Linked DNA regions of Homo sapiens: regions 1, 2 and 4 are each linked to region 3. Evidence: promoter capture Hi-C in 16 types of primary human blood cells and fetal thymus (Javierre and others, 2016). All regions are on one chromosome and are shown on one strand. Each heading gives the region's core, a stretch centred on a gene start or on the middle of the fragment in contact. The rest is flanking DNA. Distances are from core to core; before and after follow the strand shown.

Region 1 (3,397 bases), core at 794-3,293, 160 kb before region 3:
TGTTAGGACTGAAGAAGCACAGGAATCTAGCTAATGAAGTAGGTAGAACAAATGGAATGTCTGCCTCAAAGAACATGACAGTTCTAGCTTAGGAAGCCCAAGTGACATGGTCAGGCAATTATTTATGATACTATATAGTCTCCCAGTATAGAAAGGGGCTGAGCTGCTGAGGAATAGGGGTCCCTGGTCTAGAAGGGAACAGATAGTAAGGCTCTGGGTAATTAATGTGGCCAGGACTACACAGAGGATGTCAAGCTCAGAGACAATATTGTCAAGTAATCCATAGTATTAGAAGCTGAGAGATAAACAGGATATAATAATAATTTCTTTATGTCAGGTTTTAACGTTAGAGAAATTGTTGGCAGTCTAGAGTTAGAAGTAGTAAATATCAGTTTGGAGAAGTTGGTTGTGTGTTGCCTGTCATGGGGAATGTGTCAGTGTAAATTGGGAGTATGATGAAGAGGAGAGCTGAGCTGTGAGACTTGCTGAGGAAGAAGGGTTGGGAATAGGAATGACGTATCCTGTTGGATGGTGGAGCGATCAATCTGGGGTGCAAGCAGAACTGAGGTCAGTGGGAACCTCCCTTGGGGGAAGGTGCCTTCAGAATGTTGAGTGTGTCAGCAATGAGAAAGGTGTTTGAGCAAGTAAATTTCTAACCTTCAAGGAGGTACTTGTAAAATGTGGGCATATAGACATATATGATATGATCCTGTCTCCTTGATTCAAATTCTTGCAAGGCCAGAAGCATTACTTTTTTATCTTTCTCAGCATGTTGCCCATACTATGTGTGCTATTGAGCTGATTGTTGGGCACATTAGAAGCTATTAAAAAAATAAGCCTGCACTTCAGCCTGGAGATAAGTTTCTTAACTTCTGCATCTAATATGATAAACTAAATTAAGTGTTTTAAAAATGTACATTGCAGCTCTTGAGCTCTATGCTAGTCACGTCATTCTAAAGGAAGTCGAAGGTGGATTTTTACCTGGGTTTCAGAAGTTCTTGAAAATATTTTTTTGATTGTGAAGCTCATCTCATTTGAAAATTTTTGGTTAACCTAGAAAAGTATAGTAAAGAATAGAATCATCACTTGTAATCATACTTCTCAGAGACTCTCTGTTTACATTTTGAAATACTTCAAATGTAATGTAAGGAAATACTTTCCTTCTGTCTCTTCTCCCCCTGTATTTATCACAGAGACCTGATTTTTTTTGTTAGTTTTTTAAAACTAAAAACCATACTCTTGTAGCCTCCTTGATTCCCTTGCAATGTATTATAACTATTATTCCATATCGGTAAATGTCTTTCGTTCTGGGTGATTCTTGTAGTCAGACAAGTTTTGGATACACTGGCCTGGCCTAGATTTCAGGAGGGCTGGAGAGATAAAGGGAGCAGTGGGGAAAGAAAGTTTTTGAAAATGTATGAGTGAAAGGTGAGTACAGTAATGCACTCAGCACGATTCTCACTGTGTTTGCACTTCCCAGATGTGTTGGACTGGCACTTTTAGGGTGGTCTTTAGAAGACAGGCATTTGGGACTAGTAGGCAAGACTCTTGACTGTCTTGATGAATACTTTTGGTTAAGATAAACCTGTTTGCCAGTGATACCTGGCTCCTTGAAGGTCTTCTCTGCCTAGCAGACTATTCCTCAGAGTTACGACGTTGCCTGGTTAGTTGGGAAAGAGTCTGCTGAGGAATGTGAGCCGGCAGTGTCCTTTTTAGAATTCTATCATACACTCAATTATATTATCTCCGTCTGCTGGCAGGGAGGAACTATTGCCATGACTGGTATAGAAGACCTTCAGGGAAAACTCTTCAGGTAAGAAGAAACTTTGACCCTTTGTTGAGTCAGAGGCCAGTGCGGAGGTGCACTCGTGAACATGGGTTTGGGAATTGGAGTCCTGTTCCTGTTGAGCTAAACCTTAGGAAAGTTGTAGAAGGAAATACTTGAGTTTCTTAAAGGAAAAGCACGCTAAGTTGTGCTAATTCTAACACACGGTGACAGAATTGAGAAAATTTTCGCAATGTTTTTCTGCTTTAAGACAGCTCATCTCTAAAATTGATTTCAGCGCCAGGCACTATGGTAAAAGCACAGCCCTGTAAAGTATACTTCATGGGAAGAAAGTGCTAGGAAGTGTTAGAGACTGAATTTCAAACCAAAGGCTAACACCAAAATCCAGTACTCTTCATCACTGTGCTGTTGCCACTGCTCTCCAAATCTTCTCCTTGGTGTGGTGAATCACCCTTGTAAAAATAGCAGATTTCTCCTTTCTTCCCTCCTTCCCTCTGTTCCTCCATCCCTCCTTCCAACAAGTATTTATTGCATATTTAGTGTATGCTAGACTGATCTACAGTGGTGATCATCACTTCCTGTCACTTCAGGTAACTCATAAGACTTATTGATTTATAGCTATTTAGAAATGTTACATGCTAACAGCATTCACTCCTTGGTATGTTCATTCCACCAGTCTTATTTATTGAGCATCCACTGTATGTTTGGTTTTATGAGGTTATAACAGTGGGCGCAACAGCAGGGCCTCTGCCCATAAACAGTGTGTGTCCCATTGTGAGGAGACTGACAGTGAATAAGTGAAAGGTACTTTCATGGTGTGATAAGGGCTATGAAAGGTATAAACAGAAAAATGATAAAGAGTAAGGGACGGCTTTTGGGATGCTACTTCAGAAAGAGTAATCAGAAATTCTGAGAGTGTGACATATTAACAGACTTGAGGGTGAACAGAGAGAACCAACCAGCCACTGAAAACGATGTAGCCAGAGAGATAACAAGTACAAAGGCCCAGGCAAGAAAGGGCTTAGAACACTAGGAGATGAGAAAGGAAGCAAGTGTAGTTGGAGTACTGTGAGCAAGCGGGGCAGTGAAAGAGATGGGGGGAGGAGGAGCAGGAGTGGTAAGGAGACTGGACCACATGGGATTCTTGTAGGCAGTGGACTGCCGTGATCTTATTTGATTTATGTTTTATAGAGATTGCTCTGTGGTAGAAGAGATCTTGGGTAGGATGCAGAGGATTCAACAAGAATGGAAGGAAGGTTGGTTAGGACATGTGTAGCTTAGGGGAAAGATGGTAGTAGTAGTGACATGAAAAGAAATGGGTAGATTCAATACATACTTTGCAAATAGAGGCAAGATTTATTGGTTTATTGATTACATATGGGAAATTAGATGGAGGGTTTTTTTTTTTAACTTGAGCGGCTTGATTTTATACAGAGTAAAAATTTATGCTTAGGTTTATAATCCAAATTTCTTAAGTATGTTGCTCTTGGGAGAGTGAGGAAAGGTATTAGTGCATCAATTCTAAACATATTCAGAATAAGGAAGGTGACCAATATGAGGAAAGATAATTGGTAAAATTGAGCCTTGAATAAGCATTTCAAAATGATTTAG
Region 2 (3,190 bases), core at 210-2,709, 150 kb after region 3:
CATCACTTAACTATACGTACTTTATCTCTGGTAACACTAGAATGCTGTGGTCTTGAGGGAATGTTAGCAAGGAACACATAGAAGATTTGGTGTTTCATAAGCCTGTCTAGGTGTGGCAGGTTTTGTGTGGTACACTGATGTTTACCATAAGCAGGTACAAGCTTCATGAACCGTTCTTAATGAACTATAATTGAATAGATACCAAAAATAGAATGACAAATGTATTTTAATAGCAGATGAGGCAGTTTTAGGATGAATTTTCCACTGTTGATTTTACTTCAAGACATAGCAAGAGAAACAAAATTTTGTTTTCAAGACATTTCCACTGCAGTTTCAAGCTGTAGTGGGCATATGCTTCATTTACTTCCAAAGAGGCAAAAGCAGCTGGAATTGGCTTACAGCACATGCTTTGTTTCATGTTATGGGTGAGGACCTACATACACTCTTACTTTAGCAGTCACTTAACCTTCTCCAGCAAGGCAGTTGTGGGGTTCACTAGGATTTAGTGCCTGATCTTTTTTTTGGGAAGGGGCGGGAATGAATGTGTTGGGGCTGGGAGGGAAGCAGAAGAAAATGGGAGTGTGAGTGAGTGTGCATGTGTCTGAAGTTCACCATTGCCCCCACCTGCACCTAGCAAGGAACAGGTGTTTGATGTATTTTGCTCATGACTGCAGTATGCATGTATTTTTTTCCTTCTCTGTGTTTTCTAAACTTACACTAAAGGATTCATCAAATCATCTTGTTCAGATGGCTCAGGATTGTATTTATTTTGCTTACCCCGTGCTCTTGGGTTCTATAGTATTTCTATAATTATGTAACGAGAATAGTGTTGCACTGTAATCTATCATATAGAGCTATATGTATGGAAAATTTTGATCAATTTTTTAAGAAATGTATCCTGTTTGCAAAGGCACAGTAAAGTTGCATCTTATAGACTATAGGCAATAAAGCTAACAATAAACCTTATTTAACACAAACCACATCCATATCCTCTGTTCATTTGATTTTGGAAAAAGTAGCATATCCAGTAGTTTCAGGGAATTCATTTTAACTTTAAGAATTCTGATATATTTAATTTATAAATTTCGGACTGATATAATAGAGTTTTGGAAAACTATAAGAAATGCTTTGTTAATGTGTGTATTCCTATGTAAAACACATGGCTTTTCCTGTGTATATTTTTAAAAATTAAAGAAATGCACATTTAAAAAGTGTTTTGTGGAACCAGTCTGTATAAATGTGCCAGGTGACAAAGGTATGAGGGAGGGAGTAGGGAGGTGCTGACTGTGAGAAGAGAAAATTGCTGTCTGTATTTGCTAAGGGTCTGCATGTCAAGAATTTAAGAAAATATCTGTCCCCATCTTACTGTGTTTCTGTGCCACCAACAGTGAGAAGAGAAGGTGACTGAGCAGTGTCCCGAGTTGTTTTTTGTTGTTGTTTTGAGACAGACTCTCACTCTGTTGCCTGGGCTGGAGTGCAGTAGCCCAATCTCGGCTCACTGCAACCTCCACCTCCTGGGTCCAAGCGATTCTCGTGCCTCAGCCTCCCGGGTAGCTGGGATTACAGGCATGTGCCACCATGCCCAGCTAATTTTTTTTTATTTTTAGTAGACAGTGTTTCACCATGTTGGCCAGGCTGGTCTCGAACTCCTGACCCTCAAGTGATCTGCCCACCTCAGCCTCCCAAAGTGCTGGGATTACAGGCGTGAGCCACTGCACCTGGCTGAGTCCCGAGTTTCTGAGTAGGGGATTGTTTTAATGTTTCCAGGCTGCTGCCCCCTCTCGCCCCTCCTGTGCACAGCGGGGACCCTGCCCTGTGTACTGACCAGAGTGGCAGTGAGTGTATGATTGGTAAAGTGGAGCCCGGAAACAGCTCGATGTCCAGGCTGCTGGAGGGGGTAGAACTTGTGCTGTCAGCATTACCAGGGAAGACCAGAAACTGAATTGCCTTGTCCTCCATGGCAGGCCAAGGTTGTAGAGACCAAGCACTTATTTGTACTCCTTTTGTATATTTTTTAAGAGAAAGACTTAGTGTTACCTGAGATTTTAGAATGTTTCTTACCTATGGAAACCCTTGTGGTCCCATCCAGTCAGGTTGGAGCTAGTGGCCCAGGTAGTATAGAAGAGGCCTGGCAGGCCAGGCCAAGGTCTCACCACCTTTCCCTCCAGCATTTGGGCTCCTCAGGACTCAAAGTGTGGTCCATGGACCAGCAGCATCAGCATCACCTGGGAGCCTGTGAGAAATGCAGAATCTCAGGCCTCAGCTCAACCCTGCTGAACCAAAGTCTGCATGGTCATGAGAAAACGGGCTTCCCTTATAAGGAGTGTCCTGGATGCTTCCTATTTCAGGAAGTATCCTCCCTCTTAAATGTGGCAGGTCAAGATCACACGTACTGAACAGAATTTACCCTTGAGGACTAAGGGTAAATCTGTTAGTCATCAAGAAAATTTAAATTTAGTGTGCTTTGAACTCTAGTTATTTTAAAAATCAGTGTATTTCTTTAAGCATCTAGGTAATTGAGGGAGTACTGTATTTGCAGTATGGTAAAAAGCATTTTCCACCCCCTCCACCAAAATGGGGAAGGTGAGTGTCAAAGATGAAAAATAATTTTCATAATGACAAAATAAGGACTAAAAATGCATCCTTAAACAAAACAGCTTGATGCTTCTTACCCCCCAGCAGAGAAACTTGATAATAAACAATATCCCAGCAGAAAATAGGCTTTCTTAACTTTTCTTTTTCCTTCAGCACCCAGTAAGAAGCTTAATAGCATAACCCTGTGTACACAAAATTTAGAATTCTGAAATATTTTACAAAACAATATTTAGTGCTACAAATGTGTGATTTTATTTTTAATGCTCACCAAGACTGATTTGATTTTGTGACCTGCTAATGAGCCAGTTTTTACAACCTTGCATGACGGGACAATGATGCAGTGGTCCACTTACCTACCAAACTTCTTTGAAATCTGTCAATATATCTGTGATAGAAAGTACTTAAAAAAAAAAAACACTTTCCTTGTAGGGTGTTTCATACCCTTGTGTGAGCCTCCTATGCTAGCAAATGTGGCGATACATTCAATGTTAGAAGGCTTGTATAATCCAGAGCTACTAATTACTGAGCTCTCCTGTGTGCCAGGCAATGTTGCATTTACTTAGCTATACTTCCTTTCAGCTTAGAAAAGTACAAA
Region 3 (3,383 bases), core at 166-2,665:
AAGGATACACCAACACTCCTCCAAATAATTTCAGACTCCTCCTCAAAGCTGGGATCCGCATACTTGATTGTAGGAAGCTTGGACGAAGAAACCTGGGCAGCTTTAACGCTTCCAGGAAAGGCCTCACTCTGGGGGAACAGCCAGGTACCAGGAGGTACAGGTCGTCCCCTCTCCCAGGTGGAGGGGACCCTAGGGGAAGCCCGATACTCGCCTGACTTTTCCACCAGCTCCCGGACATCCTTCTTCTCGGGCAACCCTGAGTAGCCCAACCCCCGGCACTCCAAAATGGTCTTCAGCTTCTTGAAGCTCAGCGCCACCGGATCCACCAGCTGGGTGGCAAAGATGCCAGTTTCATACCACACAATGGCCTCAAAAAACCTGGCCAGGACGAACAGGACCAGGAAATAGAGGAGCAAGAAAAAAAGCTTCAGCCACATCTTCCCTGGAGTTTCCTCTCTTTCCAGAGAGCTCGGAATACGGGAGAGAGAAGGGTCGAGGGCGGGGGCCGCGGCTCGGTGGCAGCTTGGGCGAGGGCCCCGTGTCCACGCGCGGGCCACCCGGCGCCGTCACTGGCCGGCCATCCCCGGCGGGGAAGCAGGTGACGGGATCCGCGCGGGCGCGAGGCGGCGACGAGGGACGCAGAGACGCAGAGCCTCGCGCCGGGCCTCCCAGTCAAGAGCCGACAAAAATAAAGGGGAAAAACTCAAAACCCCCATCCATTAAGCACAGAAAGGAGAGGGGCGCGGGGAGAGCTCGCGGGGAAGAACAAAACGAGGGACGCTTCCCCCGGGGCGGGCACTGACCCAGGTGGCGGGGTCGGCCCTCCGGTGCCGCGATCTCAAGGGGGAGGGGGAGACCAAAAAATAACTCAGATCCGCCCAGGAGGCGGGGATCCGGGCGGCAGGCCGGGGCCCGAGGGGCCGTGGGGGCCGGACTCCCGCGGCCGCGGGTCAGGAGGGCGCGGCGCTCGGCCGGGCCAGGCCCGGGGCCCAGCGTGTTCTGCGCGGGGAGGAGCGGCCGCCGCAACGCCGCGCCCGAAGCCCAGGCCCCAGGCCCCGCCGACCGCCCAGGCTCCGCGAGAAGAGCGGCGGGCACGGCGGCGGCTCCAGGTTCGCTCGGGCCGGCTGGCGGGCGGCGCCTCTCAGGCGGGCGGGCACTGCGGCCCGGCCCAGGATGGGGCGTCGCGGTCTCTGCAGATGGAATCGGTCTCGGAGGGAAAAAACCAATAATAGGCCCCGAGACTGCTCCTCCAGGCGGCTACCCGGCTGCCTCCCGGCCACTCAGCGCCCGTCCCGCTCGGATGGGCAGTGCCGGTCGCAGCACCCGTCCCCAACACCCCCGCCACCTCCGGAGACCGCGGCCGTACCCTCCACAACCGTGTATCAGCGGCGGCCGCGGCCGGAGCCGAGACATAACAACTGACGTCGCGATGAGGCGGGGCCGGGGCGGGGCCTGCAGGGTGCGCCCGCAGGGGCCGAGGGCGGGGAATTCGGGGAGCCGCGGGGCTACCGGACTACCGAACGAGGGGCGGGAGGAGAGGCGGAGCCGCAGCGTGGTCGGGGCCTTCCCGCGGTGCCGAAAGTTGCCTCTCCGTGCTTTTGCGGCGTGGTCTCCCCTTTTGCCCCTCCAATGTTTAGCAATTGATTTTGTCTGAGGATTAGTCTTTAGATTGTATCACTTTGTGTATTTTTTGTAAAAATAGAGCAGTTAATTATTCTCTTAAAATCGGTGAAAATAGAAATGTACGTTTTTTGATGAATCCTGGTGAACAGGGAAATTTTTGGCACAGTTGGTTTGAGATGGTAGAAGGTTAAACCCAGAAAGCAAATGTTTTGCCCCCTCTTCATGAGAATGTGGCTTTGCACATGTGTGTTGGAGGAGGTTTGGCCAAAACTGGAGTTCGCGTTATACTAGGCCCAGTTGTCGCTGCCAGTTACAGCCTTTTCCCTCCTTCAGTCTCAAGGGTGTTAAAAGCCTGGTGTGGACTCCCTGAGTTCCTAGGACAAAGATTGTCGAGTGTAGATAAGTCCAGGTGCAAAGTTCCGGGTGCTTTATTTTGTACATGGGCCTGGCACAGTGGCTCACGCCTGTAATCCCAGCACTTTGGGAGGCCGAGGCGGGCAGATCACGAGGTCAGGAGTTCGAGACCATCCTGGTTAACACGGTGAAACCCTGCCTCTATTAAAAATACAAAAAATTAGGCCGGCGTGGTGGTGGGCCCCTGTAGTCCCAGCTACTCGGGAGGCTAAGGCAGGAGAATGGCGTGAACCCGGGAGGCGGAGCTTGTAGGGAGCTGAGATCGCGCCACTGCACTCCATCCAGCCTGGGTGACATAGCAAGACTCCGTCTCAAAAAAAAAAAAAAAAAAAAAAAAAAAAAAAGAAAGAAAGAAAAGAAAAAAAAGAGTCACATGGACAAGCATGCGATACCTGGTTCTGTGCTTATAAATTTAACCGGGCCGAGCGTACTCTTTACGTCAATCTCTGTGTCAGTCTTGAGGGAGGAAGGAGTTGGGTTCATAAACTGAACAAGGTTGGCTTTGACCAGCCCCTTTTGATAAGGAAGGAAAAAAAAAACAGTAATTACGGGGAAATGTTACTATTTGTGCAAAACTGTCAACTATCTGAAACTAGGGGTGAAAGTTTTAGGAAGAAAGGGATCATGATCCCAGGTCATGGAGCAAGGGAGGAACGGGAAGCAAAGAATGGACTGTGAGAATGTAGCCTCCGAATGGTGCCCATTTAAAATAAAGTGAACAAGGGCATTTCAGTGCCGGGCTAGTGGGGGAGGAGTTGGAAGGGGATGGGCCCAGGGAGCATTGAGAATCAGAGGAGGAGGTGTAGGAATGTCCAGCCAGCAACTGGACACTGCCCCTGTGTCTTTAGCTTCCATGTGGCTTTGTTCTCGTGGCTGGCAGATCAGTGTGGGAGACTGTGTTAAACAACTGATTCTAACAAGCCTGGTTCTGAAATTTCAGAATTCTTGGGCATGTCTTGGTGACCCTTTGATGATATTGTCCAAACCTTGACACTGAAGGTGATGTCCCTCACCTCAAAGGAATGTATGTACTCGCTAGTGAGGAGAGACTGACCCAATCTCAAAAATACAGAATAGGCATGGGCAGGGAAAGTTGGTGTGTGAGCTGAGGGTGGAACCAGTCAGGCCAGAGTTCCAAATTGGAAAAAAACATTAGAGTGTGGGAGGGACTAGAAAGAAGGAATTAAAGAACTCTTTTTAAATTTCTTGTTTGTTTCAACTGCCTCCCATCCCAACCCCCTTGCTTTGTTTCATTCATGGTTAACCCACAGGAGGGATAAAAGCATTGATAAGAGAACACATTGGGTCATCTGAATAAGAGAGTATGGACAAGCACATTCTATGTT
Region 4 (3,367 bases), core at 183-2,682, 140 kb after region 3:
GTGTTCTGCTTTTTACTTGAAAAATTTTGAAGTATTTGCCTATATCAGAGCATATAGAACTATTTTTTTTTTTTGGTGGCTGCTTAGTGTTCTCTTTTAGGGATTATACCTTAATTTTATTTAGCCAGTTCCTATGGATGGACGTTTGTAGTTTCCGATATTTTGCTTTATAAGTGATGCAGCATTGAATATCCGTTGCACATTATTTTGAGCATGCCTGCTAGATATGTTGTCCAATATGGTGACCACTCCTATGTGTAGCTCTTACTAATCTCTGCATTACTGAGAACCTCATGTAAAAGGGTGTGTGTGTGTGTCTTAAATAGAGTCAGATATGCAATACCATAGTTTGTGTGGTTTCTTAAATAGCATGTGAAAAGGACAGAGACTCACACCAACTCTGAGATGAGTTTAATGGTAGTAGTTCCAGCAGTGGACTCAGCCCATAGCTGAAAAATTACCATTTGAAAATATCTAAGAAATGAAACACTGAGTGTTCTTTTCAGTCTCTAAAGCAAAGTTACAGAGTTCCTCACTTTTTTGACTGAACTTTTTGTCAGGTTTGCCATTCTCTGAATTTTTTTAAGCATTTGATTCATGTTACTAAGGACATTTCACCAGGTCCACACCTGTGGAGTAAAAATCAATGTCATTCATTCCCCTGAACTTCAGCTTTTACCCCCAAGAGTATAGCCTTAAAGGAAATTAGAAAAAGAGGTTTTTGTAAGCCTTTAAATGCTGTGAAAGGTTACAGTGGAATGTGCTGTGGGATTGGCAAGAGGCTTTTTTTCCCTAGTATTACTAGAAATAGACACCCACCCAGGCTGGCAAAATTGTAAGATTAGAGAGATAAGCCCACTAATGCTGTCTGTTAGGTTCCTGAGGGAGAACCGCTAACTATGAAGGTGAAATCTTGTATTTATTTTTGGAATGATGTAGAAATTCTAAATATGGAGGTAACTGTGTGCCAAGTCTTTTCACAGGCCTGACAATTAAGATAATTAATGCTAATGTTTCTGCTGGGTAATTGTATAGATGTGGATTGCTTCTAACTTAGTCTTCTCATAAGTAATATTGTTTTGGGGTTTGTTGGTGGAAAGGCCCCAAAAGGCTCTTCATCAGAAGAATGTAGTGGCAGAGATCAGTGTAACACTGTTGATCTTACTGTCATTTTTGGGGTTCAGTGTTTCTCTAAATGGAGTAATTCCAAAGGTGACAGTGTTCTCGTGGTCCACGCTGGAAATTTGGGATCAGAATTTTTTTAAAAAAATTATAGAGTTAATAATTTCACTGCATTTTTAGTTTGCTTGCCCCCCCGCCCCCCACCATCTCTACTAAAAATACAAAATTTGCCAGGCGCGGTGGTGAGCACCTGTAACCCCAGCTACTCGGGAGGCTGAGGCACAAGAATCACTTGAACCCGGGAGGCAGAGGTTGCAGTGAGCCGAGATCACGCCACTGTACTCCAGCCTGGGCAACAGAATGAGACTCTGTCTCAAAAACAAAAACGTGGGGAGGAAGGAAGGGGGAGGGGCAGGGGCAGGAATCATTTTAGTGAGAAATAGAAAACGAATTTCGTTTTCTTTGTAATTCTTTAAGATTTATGAGAATGGGCCACAGACACCCTGACTTGCTCAGGTTCTCAAACTTTATGTCTTTCCTCATTATATCAGTCTGGAACTTCTTTGTCTTTATAAAGTAACCTCTTACCACTGAGATCTCTGTGTCCTTTCTCTCCTGTTTGTATTCTTTTTTTTTTGAGACGGAGTTTCACTCTTGTTGCCCAGGCTGGAGTGCAATGGCGCAATCTTGGCTCACCACAACCTCTGCCTCCCGAGTTCAAGCGATTCTCCTGCCTCAGCCTCCTGAGTAGCTGGGATTACAGGCATGCGCCACCACACCCGACTAATTTTGTATTTTCAGTAGAGATGGGGTTTCTCCATGTTCATCAGGCTGGCCTCAAACTCCCAGCATCAGGTGGTCCACCCACCTCGGCCTCCCAAAGTGCTGGGATTACAGGCCTAAGCCACTGCACCCAGCCCTTGTATTCTTTATTGAACCTATGGGCAGTCTTTGCAGGTTTCTAACATACATAAATTCGTTTTTACCACAGTTTAGTTAAATAACACCTGGCTGCCAACAACACAGTTCAGATTTCAGTCACCATGATGTATTAACTGTGAGCAATTGTATAAAATACAGACTTCTCTGCCAGCTCTTCAGTCTACACATCTGGACATAACAGGAGCATCATGGTCATGACCAGTTTTGTCACTTCGCTCTTGATCACTGCACATCTACTGTCAGTTACTCTCAGGCAACAGCTGTGTGGGTTGTGTCACCTCTTTAACTCCCAGGGATAAACCCACGTGACATTTTACAAAAATGGATAATTGGAAGACGGACTTGGCAACAAGAAAAACCTCTAGAAGTGAAATTGAATGTGATTAGAAAGATTTGAAAAAGGACAACAGCAAGATGAAGCTAGGGCAAGACCTAAGCCTACAGGAAGCTAATGGTACAAAGCATATTGGAAAAGTCCTGTCACTATAAAGACGAGGGTAAAGTCACTTCACCATCTTTTCACTTATATTGCACTAGAATAGAAAGATGCTTGTGGTTTAGATGGAACATTTACTTCTACTTTGGATTGAGAGAGAGAAGTGTGTGTGTGTGTGTGTGTGTGTGTGTGTGTGTGTGTGAATCAGTTTGGCTACTATTCGGGCCAAATTGATAATAGTTGCCTTATTGAAAGAAGATGGTAATTACAAGGATATTGAAGAACTTCACAGCCAGTAAAAGATGCTTTTATCATGTTCAGAAGTTGTGAATTGACTAAAGCTATCTGAGGAAGCTGCTATTGTGAGTAAGGATGCTGCTGTGAAATTTGTACTCAGATGTCAAGGATTCATTAAGGCGGATGTTAACAATGATCATCACAGAAGGCAACTCTTGATACCAGAGCTTAGCAAGAGGCATAGAATAGTGAAGAATAGTGAATAGAGTTAAAAATAGATTGACTTTCTTATTAGGAGGCAGCTGCGGAGAGTGACTTTGAATAAAACCTATGCTTATTTGGCCAGTTAACTGTGGCCAGGGAATTGAGGTCAAGAAAATACAAATGTGGGTTTCTGGGTACAATCCTGGAGGTATAAGAGAGAGGTCCTATCATGTCAGGTGAGGATTTCACCTTAATTGCTTACATGTGCTTCAATGTTTGGGAGAGTTAAAAGTGGGGTATCTCATCCTTGGTTTAGAAAATGACATTTTGCCAGGGAGGGAGAAGCTTGGAAGTCCCTTGCCTTGTACAATTTAGTCTTAATATAGTATTAAGAAGTTAAATGAGGACAGTATTGTTTCAGAATAG

What was found. The method cuts DNA at HindIII sites, captures the fragments that hold promoters and counts their contacts. A CHiCAGO score of 5 or more calls a contact.
Region 1: a contact is called between a fragment that was not itself captured here and the fragment with the promoter of RNF103 in region 3, in 2 of 17 cell types (neutrophils and naive CD8 T cells). The highest score is 7.5, in neutrophils.
Region 2: a contact is called between a fragment that was not itself captured here and the fragment with the promoter of RNF103 in region 3, in 1 of 17 cell types (erythroblasts). The highest score is 5.2, in erythroblasts.
Region 4: a fragment that was not itself captured here is called in contact with the fragment with the promoter of RNF103 in region 3 in 2 of 17 cell types (M1 macrophages and M2 macrophages); the score reaches 8.0 in M1 macrophages.

What each region holds. Positions count from the first base shown.
Region 1 is chr2:86,459,019-86,462,415 of GRCh38, forward strand. All of the region lies in intron 8 of KDM3A (lysine demethylase 3A), which reads left to right. Among named protein-coding and RNA genes, the nearest start is that of KDM3A, 19 kb to the left of the region's middle. The HindIII fragment of the contact is 5,511 bases long and covers 1-3,397 here.
Region 2 is chr2:86,776,828-86,780,017 of GRCh38, forward strand. It overlaps RMND5A (required for meiotic nuclear division 5 homolog A), which reads left to right. Exons shown (of 9, transcript NM_022780.4): 9 at 1-1,214. Among named protein-coding and RNA genes, the nearest start is that of CD8A, 12 kb to the right of the region's middle. The HindIII fragment of the contact is 2,601 bases long and covers 160-2,760 here.
Region 3 is chr2:86,622,450-86,625,832 of GRCh38, forward strand. It overlaps RNF103 (ring finger protein 103), which reads right to left and starts at 1,416. Exons shown (of 4, transcript NM_005667.4): 1 at 212-1,416. The coding sequence starts at 437. All of the region lies in intron 2 of RNF103-CHMP3 (RNF103-CHMP3 readthrough), which reads right to left. RefSeq lists silencers at 237-286, 467-546, 817-1,356, 1,437-1,606 and an enhancer at 1,317-1,611. The HindIII fragment of the contact is 8,880 bases long and covers 424-3,383 here.
Region 4 is chr2:86,758,303-86,761,669 of GRCh38, forward strand. The region is part of intron 4 of RMND5A (required for meiotic nuclear division 5 homolog A); the gene reads left to right. Among named protein-coding and RNA genes, the nearest start is that of CD8A, 31 kb to the right of the region's middle. The HindIII fragment of the contact is 3,704 bases long and covers 1-3,284 here.